Linked DNA regions of Homo sapiens: all the other regions are linked to region 4. Evidence: promoter capture Hi-C in 16 types of primary human blood cells and fetal thymus (Javierre and others, 2016). All regions are on one chromosome and are shown on one strand. The core of a region is centred on a gene start or on the middle of the fragment in contact, and the rest is flanking DNA. Distances in the headings are between cores, read along the strand shown. Region 1 overlaps EBF4 (EBF family member 4). Region 2 has its middle 37 kb from the start of CPXM1. Region 3 overlaps EBF4 (EBF family member 4). Region 4 holds the start of GNRH2 (gonadotropin releasing hormone 2). Region 5 overlaps IDH3B-DT (IDH3B divergent transcript). Region 6 overlaps DNAAF9 (dynein axonemal assembly factor 9).

Region 1 (2,700 bases), core at 40-2,539, 300 kb before region 4:
GGCAGCTGGGGGCCCCTTAGCAGTCTCTCCACACCCCCTCCCCTTCTCCTCAGGCCCCATGCCCAGCCCTGAGGTTTGGAGAGCCTAGTAAGTGCCCTATCAACATGTTAATCAAATTACTTAGGAGCTAAAATTGACGCTGTTCATTAATTATACAAGATTATGCTAATTGTGCATGCAAATGCATGCAGGGGAACAGAAGGTGTTCAGGCGCATGGTGGGCCATTAGCATAGAGGATGGGGTGCGGGTGCATTGGCATGCTAATGTATGCGCCCTGGCTATTTATAGTCCTCCAGCCCATCTGCACTGCAGCCACCTCTACCCGGGTGGGGATCATGGTGGGGAGGCCAGGTCCAGGCCTGGCAGGTGGCTGTGGCCCTGGGGACAGTCTATCTTGGCTTCTACCGCAGGCTAAGACCAGGAAGCAGCCTGGGCCAACCCCACATGGGCCTGAACTATTACAGTAAGCTCCTCATTTCCCTTCCCTTCTCTAGCGTAGGCCCTTTGGTGCCTGTTTCTGCCTGAAGGGAGACATCCCCTGTAGCCTTCCCATCACCCAGAGGATCCAAGTCCCGCATGATTTGGTCCCAACCCCAGGCCCCAAGCCACGCTGCCCTCCTCAGTCTTGTCAGGCACCACTGATCGAGTGAGCCGTCTGCCCCGTGGTGGAGCTGTTAGTCCCTTTGCATGGAGGGCCCTGCCTCCTACTTCTCGGTGAGATCCTCCAAGACCCATCACCCAAGACCAAATTGGAGCTCTAGGAAGCATTCCGCCTCCCCTAGGCAAAATAAGTGGCCACTGCAGATTACACTTGGCACATCCTCCTGCCGTGCCCACCACTCTGTCTTCCTGAGTTTCTCTTTCCTGTTGGGTTGTAATTTCCTTAAGATTTTATACAATGCCGCAGTGCCTAACACATAGAAGGTATTTAATAAATCTTTTTAAGTGGGTGTATGGAATGAATGAGGGGATGAATGGCCCAGCCCTCTGTGTCCTCCTCTGTCCCTGAGCTGAGGGTAGAGAGAAGCAGACAGTGAACACGCTGGAGAGCCAGAAACTGCTTCAGTTTCTTCGGAGGCTCATGGGAGCCCAAGACAAATCTTTTAGGATAAAAATTAGCGGAGATCCCTGTCCCCTTATTTCCCCATCTCAGGCTGCAGTGCCAGCTTTGGGCTTGGAAACACATATCCAATTTAATCTACCCTTCACTCTTAACCTGCTGTCTTTCCCAAGGCCTTCACAGGACACACTGTTGTTTGGAACATCCTGCCCCAGCTCGTATATCCATTCACTGCATACCTTCTTTCTAGATCTGCACTGTCCAATATGGTAGTCTCGAGCCACATGTGACTATTTAGATTTATGTTCATTAAAATGGCTGGGCGCAGTGGCCCACGCCTGTAATTCCAGCACTTTGGGAGGCCAAGGCGGGTGGATCACCAGAGGTCAGGAGTTCATGACCAGCCTGACCAATATGGTGAAACGCTGTCTCTACTAAAAATACAAAAATTAGCTGGGCATGGTGGCAGTCGCCTTTAGTCCCAGCTACTCAGGAGGCTGAGGCGGGAGAATCGCTTGAACCCAGGAGGTGGAGGTTGCAGTGAGCCGAGATCACGCCACTGCACTCCAGCCTGGGCAACAGAGCGAGACTCCGTTTCAAAAAAAAAATAGATTTATGTTAATTAAAATGAAATAAAATTCAGTTCCTCAGTTGCACTAGCCACATTTCCAGTGCTTAGTAGCCATGCGTGGCTAATGCATATCATTCTGGAAAAAGTTCCCTTAGGGAGCACTGTAATCTAGACACGTTCTTCCTTGCCCCTGACAGACCTGTAGTGGAAAATGCACTCGGGCTCTCCTTCCAGCTCTTTGAGTTACTGACAGCTTTCTCTTTGGAAGTGAGAACATAATTTCAGCCCTAAGTATCTCATGGGGATGCAGGGAAGAAAAAGCTGGTGAAAAGCCTTAGCTCTGTGACCTAAGTTTTCTTAGGGTGGGATTCCTGGAAGCAGAGCCTGAGATGGGGATTCTTGTGAAAGAGGTTTATCAAAGGAGAGCTCTCAGGAGAAAAGGAATGAGTATAGAGGGAGTTTAACAAGGAGGTGGTCTCGGTCGGAGTCTAGCGTCAGCCTATCCCATGCAGAGGTCTGGAGTGTGAATGGCCAGAGAGTTGGTCCTCCTTGTAATGTCAATCTGTCATTGGCTGTGGGCTACTGGTGGGGAGTATATGCTCTTGGCTGAGGGTAATTCTCAGATTACCTTGGGGCAGCTGCGAGCCATTTGACAGTCTACACTGCAGCTGGGGCATGAGGGAATCAGGCAGGCATCAACTCACTGTAAAGTTCCTGGACGTTGTCTTCCAAAAGAAGCTCCAGGCCAGGCATGGTGGCTCATGCCTGTAATCTCAGCATTTTGGGAGGCTGAATCAGAAGGATCGCCTGAGCCCAGGAGTTTGAGACCAGCCTGGGCAACGTACTGAGACCTCCGTCTCTACAAAAAATAAACAAAATTAGCTGAGCATGGTAGTGTGACCTGTAGTCCCACCTGCTCAGGAGGCTGAGGTGAGAGGATCACTTAAGCCTGGGAGGTCAAGGCTGCAGTGAGCCAAGATCACACCACTGCACTCCAGTCTGGGTGACAGAGCGAGACCCTGACTGAAAAAAAAAAGCAGCTCCATCCCACTCTGCCTTCTACCCCCT
Region 2 (2,700 bases), core at 40-2,539, 280 kb before region 4:
GATCAGAGTTGTTATTTGAGATGAAAACTATTAGCCAAGTCAATATCACACCAGGCCTTCTTGTAGTCTATAATCAGTGAGGAGCAAGTCAAACTGCTGACCATGAGTCAGTACAAGACCGGCCCACCAGCAAACCGGGGCCTGTGTCTGGGTCTGTGGCACCTTCTGCAAAGCAACTGGGGCATCTTCTGGGCCTTGCAAATGGAACACCTTTCAGACTTCCCACATCCTGTAGTCAAAGAGGTTCCATTCTCAATAGCACCTGAGGATGACATTAAGCCAAGTGGCAGAAACTTGGCCTGGAGCTTACATAAATCTGTAGTGGAGACCCACTACCCAATAAATGCTATCAAATGACTAGGTCTTAGTTTAGCTCAGTCCTGAGGCCTTGCACACAAGTAGAATTGATTGGCTCATTGGCATTCATCCCTACAGAGCCTGGATATCCCAGGCAAGTGATGAAAATCCTAACCTTAGCTCCAATTCCTATGTGAATATTGGTCAGGGTGGGATCATTCGCCTGGAATGGAAGTTGTCTTCATTTCAGTTCCCCCAGCAGCAGACCTTGGGACAGGAGGTGGGTCCAGATGGTTTATTTGGGCAACAATTGCAGAACGCACCGGTCAGGGGAGCAGGGAGGGGAGGCAGCAGAAAGAAGGAAGCCCAATACAGAGTGCTACTGAGCACGCTACTACTGTGGGTTTTTCTGAAGCTTAATCCCAGCTGGGAGCTCTGGGAGGCTATAAAATGCATACCTCAGGAATTTCGCACCTGAGGAGTGAGGCAGCTGGGGTACTTATACACTAATTCTCATCAGTCAGTGGTTAGGGCTTCTGGATGGAGTGGGAGGGCAGCACTAGCTTTCTGGCACCTCCAGTCTTCCCCACAGGTGGTAAAACAGTCCCAGTAGCTAGAGAAAACACTCAGACAAAGAGAAGCAGGAGCTGACAGTTGGAATCAGACAGGAGTACACAGAGGAGGTACAGATGAGGGGATGTGGGTGGGGCACATACCTGGAGGTGGTCCCTGGCAGTCATCCAGGGGAAGATGGTTTTTTCTACTTAAAGTAAGTTTGGAGTAGGCATGGATTTTTCCTATATCTGCAGATCCCACCTCTACCTGGCACCAGGTGACAAAAACTGCCCAGGCTATTTCTTGTTGAAGTACCAAGATGCCAGGTGACAAAGGGGTCCCTCTCAGCGTCAGCCCACCCCCAGGCTTCTAATGGGGGTGGGAATAGAAAGGGCACCAGACGCTTGGCTGCTCACCGTTCAGAGAGAGTGCATCTCCAGTAAGTCCTCTGCTTTCCTCTTACAAATTTTTCCCAGCAGAACCAGGCTGCTACACTTTGCATCTGACCCTGGGGACCAGAGAGCTTCTGGGGCTACATTTTGGCTCAGACAGGACCCGCTATAGACAGGTCTCACTGGCTCAAGAGAAGCCAGGCAGCAGCTTTGACCAGCCCTCTGCTGACTATTCTGCAAAATAGCATTCTCCCTGCCCCCTCCCCATATTGGCAGAGCCTTTTAACTTCTTCCAAAAAGAAAAATCCCCTAGAGAAATGGAAACTGCTGCGCAGTGTGGAAAGGATGGTCTTTTAAAAATATGACGTTAGAGCCCAGGCAGCTATTTGGGAGGCTGAGGCAGGAGGATTGCTTGAGCCCAGGGGTTTGAGGCCAGCCTGGGCAACAAGTGAGACCCCCATCTCTCAAAAAAGAAAATGGTGTTGGGTTAATTGGATAGCCATATGCAAAAATTACATTTGGCCTCTACCTCACACCATACACAAAAATCAATTTCAGGTGGATTGTGGATGGAACTGTGAAACCTAAAGCAATAAATCTTTACGCCCCTGAAGATAGACTAGAAGCTTTTTGCCAGAGTGATATCCAAGGTCTGTTTTTCTACCCATGTGACCAACTTTGGAATGAAGCAAGCACTGGACATATTTGAAATGGTTCAAATGGACCCTAAAGTCTCTTTTCACTTCTCTAGGAGAACTTTTCCAAATAGGAAAAAGTTCACAGTTCACAGTGTCTTTCTACCCGAGGAGAGACTAGGTCTTCATGGTTAGTGATTTCCCAAAGCTCTTAACTGCTTATCCTGGGCCAGCCGCCTTCCCCACCCTGTCCACAGCTCCCTCCTCTGCTACCACCTCAGTGGTAGTAACAACACTCACTGGGTGATGGAAGGGAATGGGTCACCTCCTTGGAGCCACCAGCCTAGAAGTTGGCCGTTCACAAGAAGACCTTCACTGTGAGAGTCCTGATGGGGGCGAGGCATCGACCACAAATATGGACCTAGCATCCTCTTATCACTTCTCCCATGCTCCCCTTCTCTTCACTCTTACTAAGAGGTGTGTGTGTGTGTGTGTGTGTGTGTGTGTCAGGGTTTCACTCTGTCACCCAGGCTGGAGTGCAATGGCACAATCATAGCTCACTCCTGGGTTCAAGCAACCCTCCTGCCTCAGCCACTTGAGTAGTTGGGACTACAGGTACCACACCCAGCTAATTTTTTAGGGGGTAAGAGATGGAGGTCTCACTATATTGCCCAGACTGGTCTCAAACTCCTGGGTTCAAGTGATCCTCCTGCCTCAGACTCCCACAGTGCTGGTATTACAGGCGTAAGCCACCACGCCTGCCTTCATTATGAGATTTTCTTTTTCTTTTCTTTTCTTTTTTTTTTTTTTTTTTTTTGAGA
Region 3 (2,700 bases), core at 20-2,519, 330 kb before region 4:
AGGTTCCCAGTTCACCCCTGTGCTGTCTGACCTGACTTCTCTGAACATTCGTTTCTTTCACTGGAAAAGTGGGGAAAGAGCTGGCAGGTTTCAGTCATAGAATTGTCGAGGTGATGCATGTAAAAGTGCATTTGCACACCATGATTTCTATTTCTTTATTTTGTGTGTGTGTGTTTGTTTTGTTTTGTCGCCCAGGCTAAAGTGCAGTGGTGTGGTCATGGCTCACTGCAGCCTCAATCTCCGAGGTTCCGGTGATCCTCCCACCTCAGCCTCCCAGGTAATTGGGACTACAAGGACACGCCTCCACACCTGGCTAATTTTTTGTATTTTTTGTAGAGACCGGGTTTTGCCATATTGCTCAGGCTGGTCTTGAACTCCTGGGCTCAAGCAATCCACCCACCTCGACCTTCCAAAGTGCTGGGATTACAAACATGAGCCACTGTGCCTGGCCTACTTCTTTTTGAAGAGGAAATGCATAAATAAGGTGTAAAATTCAAATGGTACAAAACAGTAAATAATGAAAAGGAAGTCTCCCTCCACCCCTATGTAGAGCATACTGTACATGTTTTTTTTTTTTGGTAACAATATATTTTAGATATTCCACACAGGAACATAAACCATATCTTATTCTCCTTTTAATAGAAAAAGCATTCATAGGTGCAAAAATTCAAGAAGCTTAAAAGGGTTTACAGCAAACTGTCTCCCACCTCTGTCTCCCACCCATCCATTCCCCACCAAATAAGCTACCACTATTAGCAGTTTCTGTTGTATCCTTCCTGAGATAGTCTGTGCATATACAACAAAATAGTTATATGTTCTTTTTGTACCCTTTCCTTTTGTTTTTATAAAAATGGTGACAGTGGCTGAGTGCAGTGGCTCATGCCTGTAATCCCAACACTTTGGGAGGCTGAGGCAGGGGGATTGCTTGAGCCCATGAGTTTGAGACCAGCCTGGCCAACAGGGTAAAATCCCATCTCAACAAAAAATACACACACAAAAATTAGCTGGGCATGGTGGTGTACATCTGTGGTCCCAGCTACTCAGGAGGCCGAGGTGGGAGGATCACCTGAGCCCAGGAGGTCTAGACTGCAGCGAGCTGTGATTGTGCCACTGCACTCCAGTCTGGGCAACAGAGTGAGACCCTGTCTAAAATAATAATAATAATAATAATAATAATAATAAAATTAAATTAAAATTAAAATGGTGGCAGGAAGCAGAACTTTCAGCACCTTTCTTTTTCCTTGAAAAATTTAGATCTGGGAGTTTACATCAGGACACAAGAAGTCTCCTTATTCTTTTTTGCCACTGCAAAATATTTCATTGTATGGGTATGCCATAATTTATTTAAATAGTCAGATATTGCTGGACATTTTGGTTGTTTTCATCCCTTTTCAGGGATTTAAAAATGCTGCAGTGAATTACTTTGTCCATGTGCCATTTCACACGTGTAAATTTATATGAAGGCTATTACTAAGTAGAATTGCTGGGACAAAGAATATGTGCATTTGTAGTTTTGATAGCTACTGCCAATTCGATCTCTGTAGGGGTTATACCAACAGCATTGAAACCAGCAATTTTGAGAATGCCTATTCCTTACACTCTGGCCAATTAAGTATTTTTGTTTATTTGTTCAATCAACAATTCTTGAGCATCTACTCTGTGCTAAGAACTTTTCTACATGCTGTGGATTAAGCAATGACCAAAATAGACAAAAAGCCTTGTGTTCACGGGCTTACAATCTGGTAGGGGAAATAGACATTAACAAACTAAATGAAAAAAATACATAGCATGTTAGATGGTGATAACAGCTAAGAAAAATAAAGCCATTGAGGAAGATCTGGGAGTGCCTAGGAAGGAAGGTTTGAAGCTTTAGGGTATTTAAGGTCTCACTGAAAAGATGACATTTGAGCCAAGACCTCAAGGAAGTAAGAGAGTGAGCGATGTATTTATGTATCTGGGGGAAGAATATTCTCGGCAAGAGTGTGCCTGCTGTGTTTAAGGGAAAACAAGGAGGCCCAGGTGGCTGGAGCAAGGAAGGTAGTAGGAGGAAATGATGTCAGGAATAATGAATGGGGCAGAGGAAGGCACGACCATGCAGGGTCTTATAGGCTGCATGGAGGCCACACTTGTGGGTCATTGTAAGGGCTTTGGCAGGACATGGAAGCCATTGAGGGGTGTTGAGAATGATAAGACCTGCCTTATATTTTAGCAAGATCACTCTAGCTGCCATATTGACAATGACCTGTACAAGGCAGGGAGATGAGTTAGGAAGCCAGTACAATAGCCCAGGTGAAGGATGATGGAAGCTGAGACTAGGGATGCTATAGGGGAGGTTGTAAGAAGCGGCTGCATTCTGTGTACATTTCATTTCATAGGCAGGACTGACAGGATTTGTTATGGAAGGAGAGAGAGAGAGTCAAAGACTCAAAGATGTCTCCAAGGTTTCTGACCTATCAACTTAGAAGGATGGAGTTTCCTGAGAAGGGTGTGATTTGGGGAAGAGCAGGTTTTGGAGGAGAAAGATCTGGAGTTTGGTTTGAGCATGTTATGTTTATGATGCTCACTAAACATCCAAGTGAGGAGCTGAAAAAGCCACAGAAAACATGAGGATGGGACTCAAGAGAAAGGTTCAGGCTGCAGATGTAAATTTGAATGAATGAAATCATCGAGGGGATGAGTGTTGATAGCAAACAGAAGAGG
Region 4 (2,700 bases), core at 145-2,644:
CAGTTCTAGTCTGGAAAGGACCAAACATTTCTTAAAAGCTAAGTATGTTGCCGGAAAAAAAAGGGAGCAGAGCTTTCCCCAGGAAGCTTGGCTCTGGTTTAGATTTTTCAGGAAAAGCCGGAATCAAATTACAGAATAAATAAAGGCAACCATCCCCCTTTTAAAGGTACACCAGCCTTGGTGCATCTTTGAAGAAAGCATTCTGTAAACCCCAACCAGAACTAAACTAGTACGTCGAACTCAGATTCATTTTCACTAAACCACAAGCAAATGTTTCCCTAAAAATCACCCAGTTAACAAAGTCCGCATATTTAAGCCAAAACAATTTAACTGAACAAATGGGCCACACGTTGATTTCCGGTCCCTGCTAATAAGTCAGTCTGGAAGTTCACAGGTGTGCCCATCCTGCCTTGGCTGCTGAAGTCCAGGTGTCTAGGGCTGACTGATGCCCATTATGCCTCCCCTCCCCCATCTTTGTCACAGGATTTGACGCACCAGCTCTCCAAATGACCCTGGCCCTCCCATTTGCTGTTCAGCCCAAGTGCGGAGATTGGCTATGAACCCTGTAAACAGGCCTCTGACCCCCAGAGGCTGATGGCTGGCCAAGGAAAGCTGAGCTGCTGACGCAGACTGGGAAGCAAGAGCCCACTTCCAGCAGCCCAGGCTAGCTGTGTCCAAATCCATGACTGGGGAGGGGTTAGAGCCTTGAGGGACAAAATTATTCTACCTACCTAGGGAGACTGCACTGGCCCAACAGCTGGGCCCCATCTCATGGGCCCGCTTCTTCGCCAGGAGAGAAGCCACTCCGGGGTAGGTACTGCCCCACCCAAACCCAGCCATCTGGAGTGACCCAGCCCTGGTTCCCAGGTGTGTGGATGTGAATTGTCCCACCCAACCCACTCTACAGTGAGCAAACGGAAGCCCTCTGGGAGAGTGGTCACAGCCTCCCCTGTACCTCTGAACAGCCTGCCAGGCTCCCTACTCTTAGGCTTCCACTGTCCACCAGGGAAAGCCCTGAGCTGGGAGTTGGGGAGCCCCCAGGCATTGCCCCTGCCCAGGACACAATTCTCTTTTGGGATCAGGGAAGGCTGTGAGGGCTTTCTAGGTCTCAAGATCAGGAGCTTGAAGATGCAGCCTGGGAAGTGGGAAGGTGAGACCAGGACATAGGCCAGCCTAAAGCAAGAGTCCTGGGCCTGAAGGCTCCTGGGAAGGTGGTGGGGAGGGAGCATGTGTCGGTGGCCTCAGGGCAGCAGCTGCCTGGTGAATGTTCATGGACTGGATGCTCTGGGAAGCGGGTTGGGTGGTGAGCTTCTCTCTTCCCCTCTGAAGACGTCACTGGAGTCTGGGGGTGGAGCTGCCTGGTCTATAAATCCTGGGGCCATCAGGCTAGGGTCCTGCAGCTGCCTGAAGGAGCCATCTCATCCACAGCTCTTCCTTGGTGAGTGGGGAGCCTTCCCTAAGGGCTAGGACACCTGGACCAAGTTTCATCCTGGGCGTATGGTGTGCTGCTCCTCTTCCCCATTCCCAGGTGCCTCCACCCCTGAACCATGCCAGAGAAGTCCCCTTTTCCTCTCCTCTCCCCAACAGCTCTACCATCTATTCTTGTGCTTGTTGCCCCTGGCATGGGAGGGATAAGGGGTAGAAGCACTTGCCCCCATCAATACCACTCATCCATTCCACATCCCCAACTACTATGGAAGAGATACAGCAGGCCACGGAGAAAAGGGCAGAAGGCCTGCAACTCTGGTTCCCTAGCACTGGTGCTCCAAACACGCCTACATTGAGAACTCCCCTGACCATCCATCTATCCTCCCATCCATTGGCCTGAATTCAGGTCTCTGTTCCCCTCCAACTTTCTTCCACTTCTGGAAACTCCTTGAAGGAAAGATGGATGGACCTGGACAAGTGGGAGGGCCCTCAGAGCTGGCAAGGCAGGTAGCCTCTGTGCCCCAGGCTCAGGGAGAAGGCTCGTCCCCTGGAGCATCATCCCCTGCTGGGCCAGGATCCCCCAGGATCTGGACCCCTGTATGCTTGGGATGAGGAGCGGTGGCAGAGAGGGAAGGGCATAAGGAGATACCAAAGCTGCCCCTGAGATGCCAGTTTTCCAAAGTGGCCCTGGAGGAAGTAGGGGGATGTGGGGGTGAGGTAAGTCTCCTTGAATGCTGTACCCTGTCCATTAGAGCAGCCATGGCCAGCTCCAGGCGAGGCCTCCTGCTCCTGCTGCTGCTGACTGCCCACCTTGGACCCTCAGAGGCTCAGCACTGGTCCCATGGCTGGTACCCTGGAGGAAAGCGAGCCCTCAGCTCAGCCCAGGATCCCCAGAATGCCCTTAGGCCCCCAGGTGGGTGTCTCCCAGCCTCATGGGGAGGAAGAAAGTGATGGCCGGGGGCTCCCCCACCCTCCTGGAGCCTGAGGTCGGGGTAGGGAGGACAGCATCAGTTCCCTTCTAAGGAAGGGCCCTGGACACTGCAGCAGGCAGCCCAGTCCAGACTGCCCATGGCCTCCCAAGTGATGCCCTGGCTCCCCTGGACGACAGCATGCCCTGGGAGGGCAGGACCACGGCCCAGTGGTCCCTTCACAGGAAGCGACACCTGGCACGGACACTGCTGGTGAGTAGGGTGAGAGGTCCCCAGCATCAAGACCAGCCACTGGTCATCAGAGGCCATTGTGGCTTAGGGTTGGGTGCTGGGAGGGTGGGGA
Region 5 (2,700 bases), core at 137-2,636, 380 kb before region 4:
TATAATGATGGATGAGCTGCCTACACTTGAGTGTTCAGTGTGAAGCTGAGTGACTTGAATGTCTGCTTCCCAGGCCTGCAAATCCTCCAGCACAGGAGTCCTGACTTGGGATCTACAGAACCCCCTAGGTGTCCATGAATAGGAATCAGCACTGTGAACCTGGATGGGGGAAAAACCAAAAATCACATCTTTATTCTCACTAACCTCTAACTGAAGTTTAGCATTTCCTTTCATTATGAATGCAGGTCACAGATTACAGTGCTGCCTGTAGTACTCTTGACTTTGTCAATCATAAAAAGTATAGATATTTTCATACCACATTTTAGTTGTAGTAGATCTCTCAAAATATCACTTACTTTAATCCTATTTTTACATTATTTGACCCAATGCTAGATTGTGTTATTTAATGAATTAATAAAGCAGCAAACATAGTAGTATGTTACAAGGTAGCTTTTATTCCTTTTCTCCTTTTAGAGAGATGGTTTCAGTCTGTTCCCCAGGCTAGGGTGTGATCACGGCTCACTGTAACCTCAAACTCCTGGGCTCAGGTGATCCTCCCACCTCAGCCTCCCAAGTAGCTGGGACTACAGGCATGCGCCACCATGCCTAGCTAATTTTTAAATATTTTGTAGACATGAGGTCTTGCTATGTCGCCCAGGCTTGTCTTAATCATATTTGTCTTGTAATTCTATTTATTTTATATACTTAAAAGTCTCTTTTTTTTTTTTTTTTTGGAGACAGAGTCGCTCTGTTGCCCAGGCTGAAGAGCAGTGGGCGATCTCAGCTGAGTGCAAGCTCCACCTCCCGGGTTCACACCATTCTCCTGCCTCAGCCTCCGGAGTAGCTGGGACTACAGGCGCCCGCCACCACGCCCAGCTAATCTTTTTGTATTTTTAGTAGAGACAGGGTTTCACCGTGTTAGCCAGGATAGTCTCGATCTCTTGACCTCGTGATCCACCCGCCTCGGCCTCCCAAAGTGCTGGGATTACAGGCATGAGCCACTGCACCCGGCCTAAAAGCCTCTTCTAAGAAAGGTTCCACAGGCTTCACCAGCCTTCCAAAGAGGTCCGCTGCACACAAAAGTTTCAGAATTTCTGGTGTATTAGGCCTACTGGATCTTTTTCTGAAACCATGAACAATCAAAAGAGTAATATAACCAATGACAATTCCTTGAAAATTAACGTCTGAAAAAGCTTCTTGGGAGAATTTGATCTGTGATTGAAAGGATAAACAGAATTACAGAGGAGAAGTGATTACACTCAGGGAAAATGGAAATGTAAGCAAAGCTACTGTTTCAGATCAACTGCCCTAGAAGCAGAGCCCAAGACAGGGATTCTATGCAATTGACCTGTTGAAGGAGTGCTCTCAGGAGAAACACATCAGAAGGTGAATGAGCAGAATATGGAGGGGAAGGAGCTCAGCAAGATGTGGCCTCAGCCAGAGTCCACCTCAGCCCCATCTCCTGGGGAGCTCTGGAGCATTAGTGACAACTCAAGGTTGTCATGATTTGAGACAAGGCTTAACAACCCTGCTTTGCCCCTGCATGGCATAGGCCAGGGCCAATCCTTCAGAGAAGGGGGAAGCTTTGAGCCGTTAGTGGCAAATACCTGAAGCAACTGGGGGAATGGATACACCAGCTTGCCAAGAGGACCTGGCCAAGGCAGACACTACCTTGCGGAGGTGACAGTGAACATAGCGTGCTGACGAACAGTGAGGTGGGCAGATATATTTGAGGAGATGAGTTATAGTGAGGATTGGTGAGTAAGTAGGACTGGTGCATGTTCAAGGTCCGAGAGAAACAGAGAGAGTTTTGTGAGCAATACTAAGCACCCTGTTGAGGTTGGTGACCATGAAGTTTATTGTGGTGCAATTGTGTGTGATTTCACGGTGAGAGCAAACCAAAAGTGAGTTCATCCAAAAGTGATATTTTGCTAGAGAGTGGTACAAGGGAGTTGAGAGTGTTGGCAAAATGGGATCAGGAGGCAAGTGAAGACAGAAGAGATCTAATCAACAGGCAGCTGAGGAAAGAATCAAAGACCCCCCCAAAATATTCAAAGAGTAGTACTTGTGGGAGTTGTTGAGCAAGTAACATGGGAAGAGAGGACGCTGCTTCCACCAGTGGTTTTGGAGGTGGAGTAGATGCTGGTGATAATGAAGTCCCAGATAGGAAATGGGAGTGGATGCCAAGGAGATCTCAAGGACCCTGCAGATGAGGACTCAAACCCACAATATTGATGAGGCATCCATGTCACCATGGGAGTCAACGAGGATAGTGGCCTCAGCTGAGGCAGGGAAAAGCTGGGATCCAAGTGACATAGTCTTCTCTTGATAAGCAAGAGAGACCAGGAGATGAGAGATGGCAGAGAATGAGAGAGGTGATATCAGTTACCAGAAAGAGCCCCTAAAAGGCAACACTTCTTTTTTTCCATTAGTTTTAATATAGAATTTTGCTTTAGTACTTTTAATTAGATAACCCTCTTTTAAAAATATATATTTTTTAAAATATATTTTTTTCTTACCATACCAACTCACAGCCCCAATCTTTTTGCCCTAACCTCAGAATCAGTTAGTTGTCCGCTTTAAAACCCTTTTCTTACACACACACACACACACACACACAGAATATATAGTATTGTTTTTGGTGTATGAGTGTGTGCGTCGGAATAAATGGTTTCATACTCTATATACTTACTGTTTTAT
Region 6 (2,700 bases), core at 106-2,605, 280 kb after region 4:
TCAAGGAACCCAGGAGTTTGAGACCACCCTGAACAACACAGTGAGATCCCCACTCTACTAAAGAAAAAATTAGGCTAGGCATAATGACTCATGCCCATAATCCCAACACTTTGGGAGGTTGAGGCGGGTGGATCACTTGAGCCCAGGAGTTTGAGACTAGCCTGGGCAACATGGTGAAACCCCATCTCTACTAAAAATACAAAAAAAAATTAGCCAGGCATGGTGGCGTGTGCCTGTAATCCCAGCTACTTGGGAGGCTGAGGCAGGAGAATTGCTTGAACCTGGGAGGTGGAGGCTGCAGTGAGCTGAGATCGCGCCACTGAACTCCAGCCTGGGCAACAGAGCAAGACTCTGTCTCAAAAAAAAAAAAAAAAAAAAAAGAAAAAAAAATAGCCAGGCATGGTGGCGTCTGCCTGTGGTCTCTGTTATTCAGGAGGCTAAGGCAGGAGGATTGTTTGAGCCCAGGAGGTTGAGGCTGCAGTGATCTATGATCATGCCACTGCACTCCAGCCTGGGCAACGGACCGAGACCCCGTCTCAAAAAAAAAAAAAAAAAAAAAAAAAAAGCAAGAAAGCTATCAAGCTTTTATGGCCAAGACAAATAAAAGCTGAGGCTTCAGTAGCCTGGAAACAAAATTAGAACAACTCAGAGAGCTCCCAAATGTCTGGTAAGAAAGCCCTAATTTATTAGGTAAAAACTAGTGAAAATGAAACAATTCCGGGAAGAAGCCAGCAGAAGAAAGAGAAAATGATGTTAGCTAGAGCTAGAGTCTGTGATGACCAGGAAGATCTGATGAGGGACATGGGATAAGTAGCACAAGGACCTGTCCCCTCCTACCCTGAATAGTAGTGAGCGGTGGGTGCTGGTGCAGATCTCCTAAGTCCACTTTCACATATTGTCGTCCTAGCCTGGGACGCCTGTCCCACCCCTTAGGACAGAGACAAAAGATCTGAGGCTCTTGAACGGATTGCTGAATTTTCAAATAAAAACTTAAAGAGGCCACAAGGTTGAAAGGAAAAAAACCACAGTTAAGGCCAAAGCCCTTAATTTTCCATATTATTATGATAATAGGATATACAAAAGAGACAAGTAGGCGTCTATATTTGAATTAACTTTCCTTTCAGGTTTGACAACTGGAAGGTTTATCTAAAGCTGTCTCAAAGGATTTCGAGCATCTGAAGACACAGAACCCTCCTGAGCTACATGGTCCCTCTTAAGTGACAATGGCAATCCTATGTCTTTGGTTCCCAGACCAATCAGGTGGACAGATCCTGGGGGTTCCTGATCCTTCATGTTCATATTTGGCCACTGGTATTGAGGAAGGGAAGAGAGGATATTAAAAAGATAACATGTAGCATTTGTTGGACACTTGTTATGTACTTCCCACCATGTGGCACGGGGAAAGAAAAAATACAGCATGGTGCCTGTCTTCAGGAAATCTATAATGTATAGCTGGAGAAACAAGGGCATTCTTATATGAAGGTCATCATATGACACATTATGATATCATATGACACATTAGGATATAATTATTTCTTAATTTGTGTAGTACAAACTGCAACTGCAAGGACTATAGGAATACTTGTAGGGAGAAATCAACAGGGAAGGCTTTGGGGAGGATATAGAACTTCATCTCTGGATAAGAGGACAGAATGTAGACAAAAAGCATCAACTTCCTGCCTCTTATTTCCTATCTCATTAGCTGTGCATACTTGACGCAAGACTATGATTTTACTGGATTCCTAATCACCTGCTACTATGCAAAGCATCTTCCAAAGCACTGCTCAAGAGTCTAAGGAGAGAAGTCAGGGATTTAAAGTCTAACAAGGAGATAAAGTATTATCACCTAAATATCAGAAAGTATTTCCCAATGTTTTAATGATATCACAAAAAAGTCTAAACTAGTTCTAAAAGAACATCCACACAAAATGTTGACAGATGGGGACCAGGAACATTATAAAAACATAAATTACAACCTTAAAAAAATTACCCTTGTTGTGCTATTCTCTGTAGATAGGTTAACACTACTGACAGGAACTTTTGAGTTACTTTTCCACAGGTGATGGTGATGGGGATGCGCTTGTACCAAATTATCCACTGGGTGCTGCTCACCCAGTTCCCTGGGACCAAAGCTTTTTCAAACTAAGGCTCAGGCAGTGGTCACAGAACAGACTCAAGATATAACACACACCACAAACAGAATCTTGGCTAGATATGTACTACCCTCTCATGTACCATTTGCCAATCTTCTTCACATCAGGATGTTCTGGGGTAAAGGGAGGACTCAGCTTGTGGCTGAGAACAACTGGCCTAGAAACTCTGGCTCCCCTTCGCCATGCCATCCCACCCCAGGGACCATTATCTCAGTGCATCTCCAAACCATGCCCCCAGCACACAGGTTGGAAAACGTTGCTCTGACTACTCTACTTCATGGCAGACCCAGGTCCCTGTTGATTATTGGCCATTTAAATAATTATAGTCATGTATCACTTAATGACAGGGATACATTCTGAGAAATGCATCATTAGCTGATTTCATCACTGTGTGAACATTGTAGAGTGTACTTAAACCTAGATGGTGTAGCCTACTATACACCTAGGCTAGCTGGTATAGTCTATTGCTCCTAGGCTACAAACCCGTACAGCATGTTACTATACTGAATACTGTAGGCAATTATAACATGATGGTAATATTTGTGAA

The links. Contacts are between HindIII fragments. The CHiCAGO score rates a contact against its expected background, and 5 or more counts as called.
Region 1: a contact is called between a fragment that was not itself captured here and the fragment with the promoter of GNRH2 in region 4, in 1 of 17 cell types (naive CD4 T cells). The highest score is 5.9, in naive CD4 T cells.
Region 2: a fragment that was not itself captured here is called in contact with the fragment with the promoter of GNRH2 in region 4 in 1 of 17 cell types (endothelial precursors); the score reaches 5.1 in endothelial precursors.
Region 3: a fragment that was not itself captured here is called in contact with the fragment with the promoter of GNRH2 in region 4 in 1 of 17 cell types (M0 macrophages); the score reaches 5.2 in M0 macrophages.
Region 5: a contact is called between a fragment that was not itself captured here and the fragment with the promoter of GNRH2 in region 4, in 4 of 17 cell types (naive CD8 T cells, total CD8 T cells, naive CD4 T cells and 1 more). The highest score is 7.4, in naive CD8 T cells.
Region 6: a contact is called between a fragment that was not itself captured here and the fragment with the promoter of GNRH2 in region 4, in 5 of 17 cell types (naive CD4 T cells, naive CD8 T cells, total CD4 T cells and 2 more). The highest score is 10.0, in naive CD4 T cells.

What each region holds. Positions count from the first base shown.
Region 1 is chr20:2,738,654-2,741,353 of GRCh38, forward strand. All of the region lies in intron 6 of EBF4 (EBF family member 4), which reads left to right. Among named protein-coding and RNA genes, the nearest start is that of EBF4, 47 kb to the left of the region's middle. RefSeq lists an enhancer at 1-490. The HindIII fragment of the contact is 5,127 bases long and covers 1-2,700 here.
Region 2 is chr20:2,761,945-2,764,644 of GRCh38, forward strand. No RefSeq gene overlaps it. Among named protein-coding and RNA genes, the nearest start is that of CPXM1, 37 kb to the right of the region's middle. The HindIII fragment of the contact is 1,158 bases long and covers 711-1,868 here.
Region 3 is chr20:2,709,999-2,712,698 of GRCh38, forward strand. The region is part of intron 6 of EBF4 (EBF family member 4); the gene reads left to right. Among named protein-coding and RNA genes, the nearest start is that of EBF4, 19 kb to the left of the region's middle. The HindIII fragment of the contact is 1,192 bases long and covers 674-1,865 here.
Region 4 is chr20:3,042,228-3,044,927 of GRCh38, forward strand. GNRH2 (gonadotropin releasing hormone 2) reads left to right here and starts at 1,395. Exons shown (of 4, transcript NM_178331.2): 1 at 1,395-1,438; 2 at 2,181-2,341; 3 at 2,473-2,609. The coding sequence starts at 2,188. The HindIII fragment of the contact is 14,485 bases long and covers 85-2,700 here.
Region 5 is chr20:2,666,767-2,669,466 of GRCh38, forward strand. It overlaps IDH3B-DT (IDH3B divergent transcript), which reads left to right. Exons shown (of 3, transcript NR_186432.1): 3 at 742-2,687. Among named protein-coding and RNA genes, the nearest start is that of IDH3B-DT, 3.8 kb to the left of the region's middle. The HindIII fragment of the contact is 390 bases long and covers 1,192-1,581 here.
Region 6 is chr20:3,318,725-3,321,424 of GRCh38, forward strand. The region is part of intron 16 of DNAAF9 (dynein axonemal assembly factor 9); the gene reads right to left. Among named protein-coding and RNA genes, the nearest start is that of SLC4A11, 81 kb to the left of the region's middle. The HindIII fragment of the contact is 1,550 bases long and covers 581-2,130 here.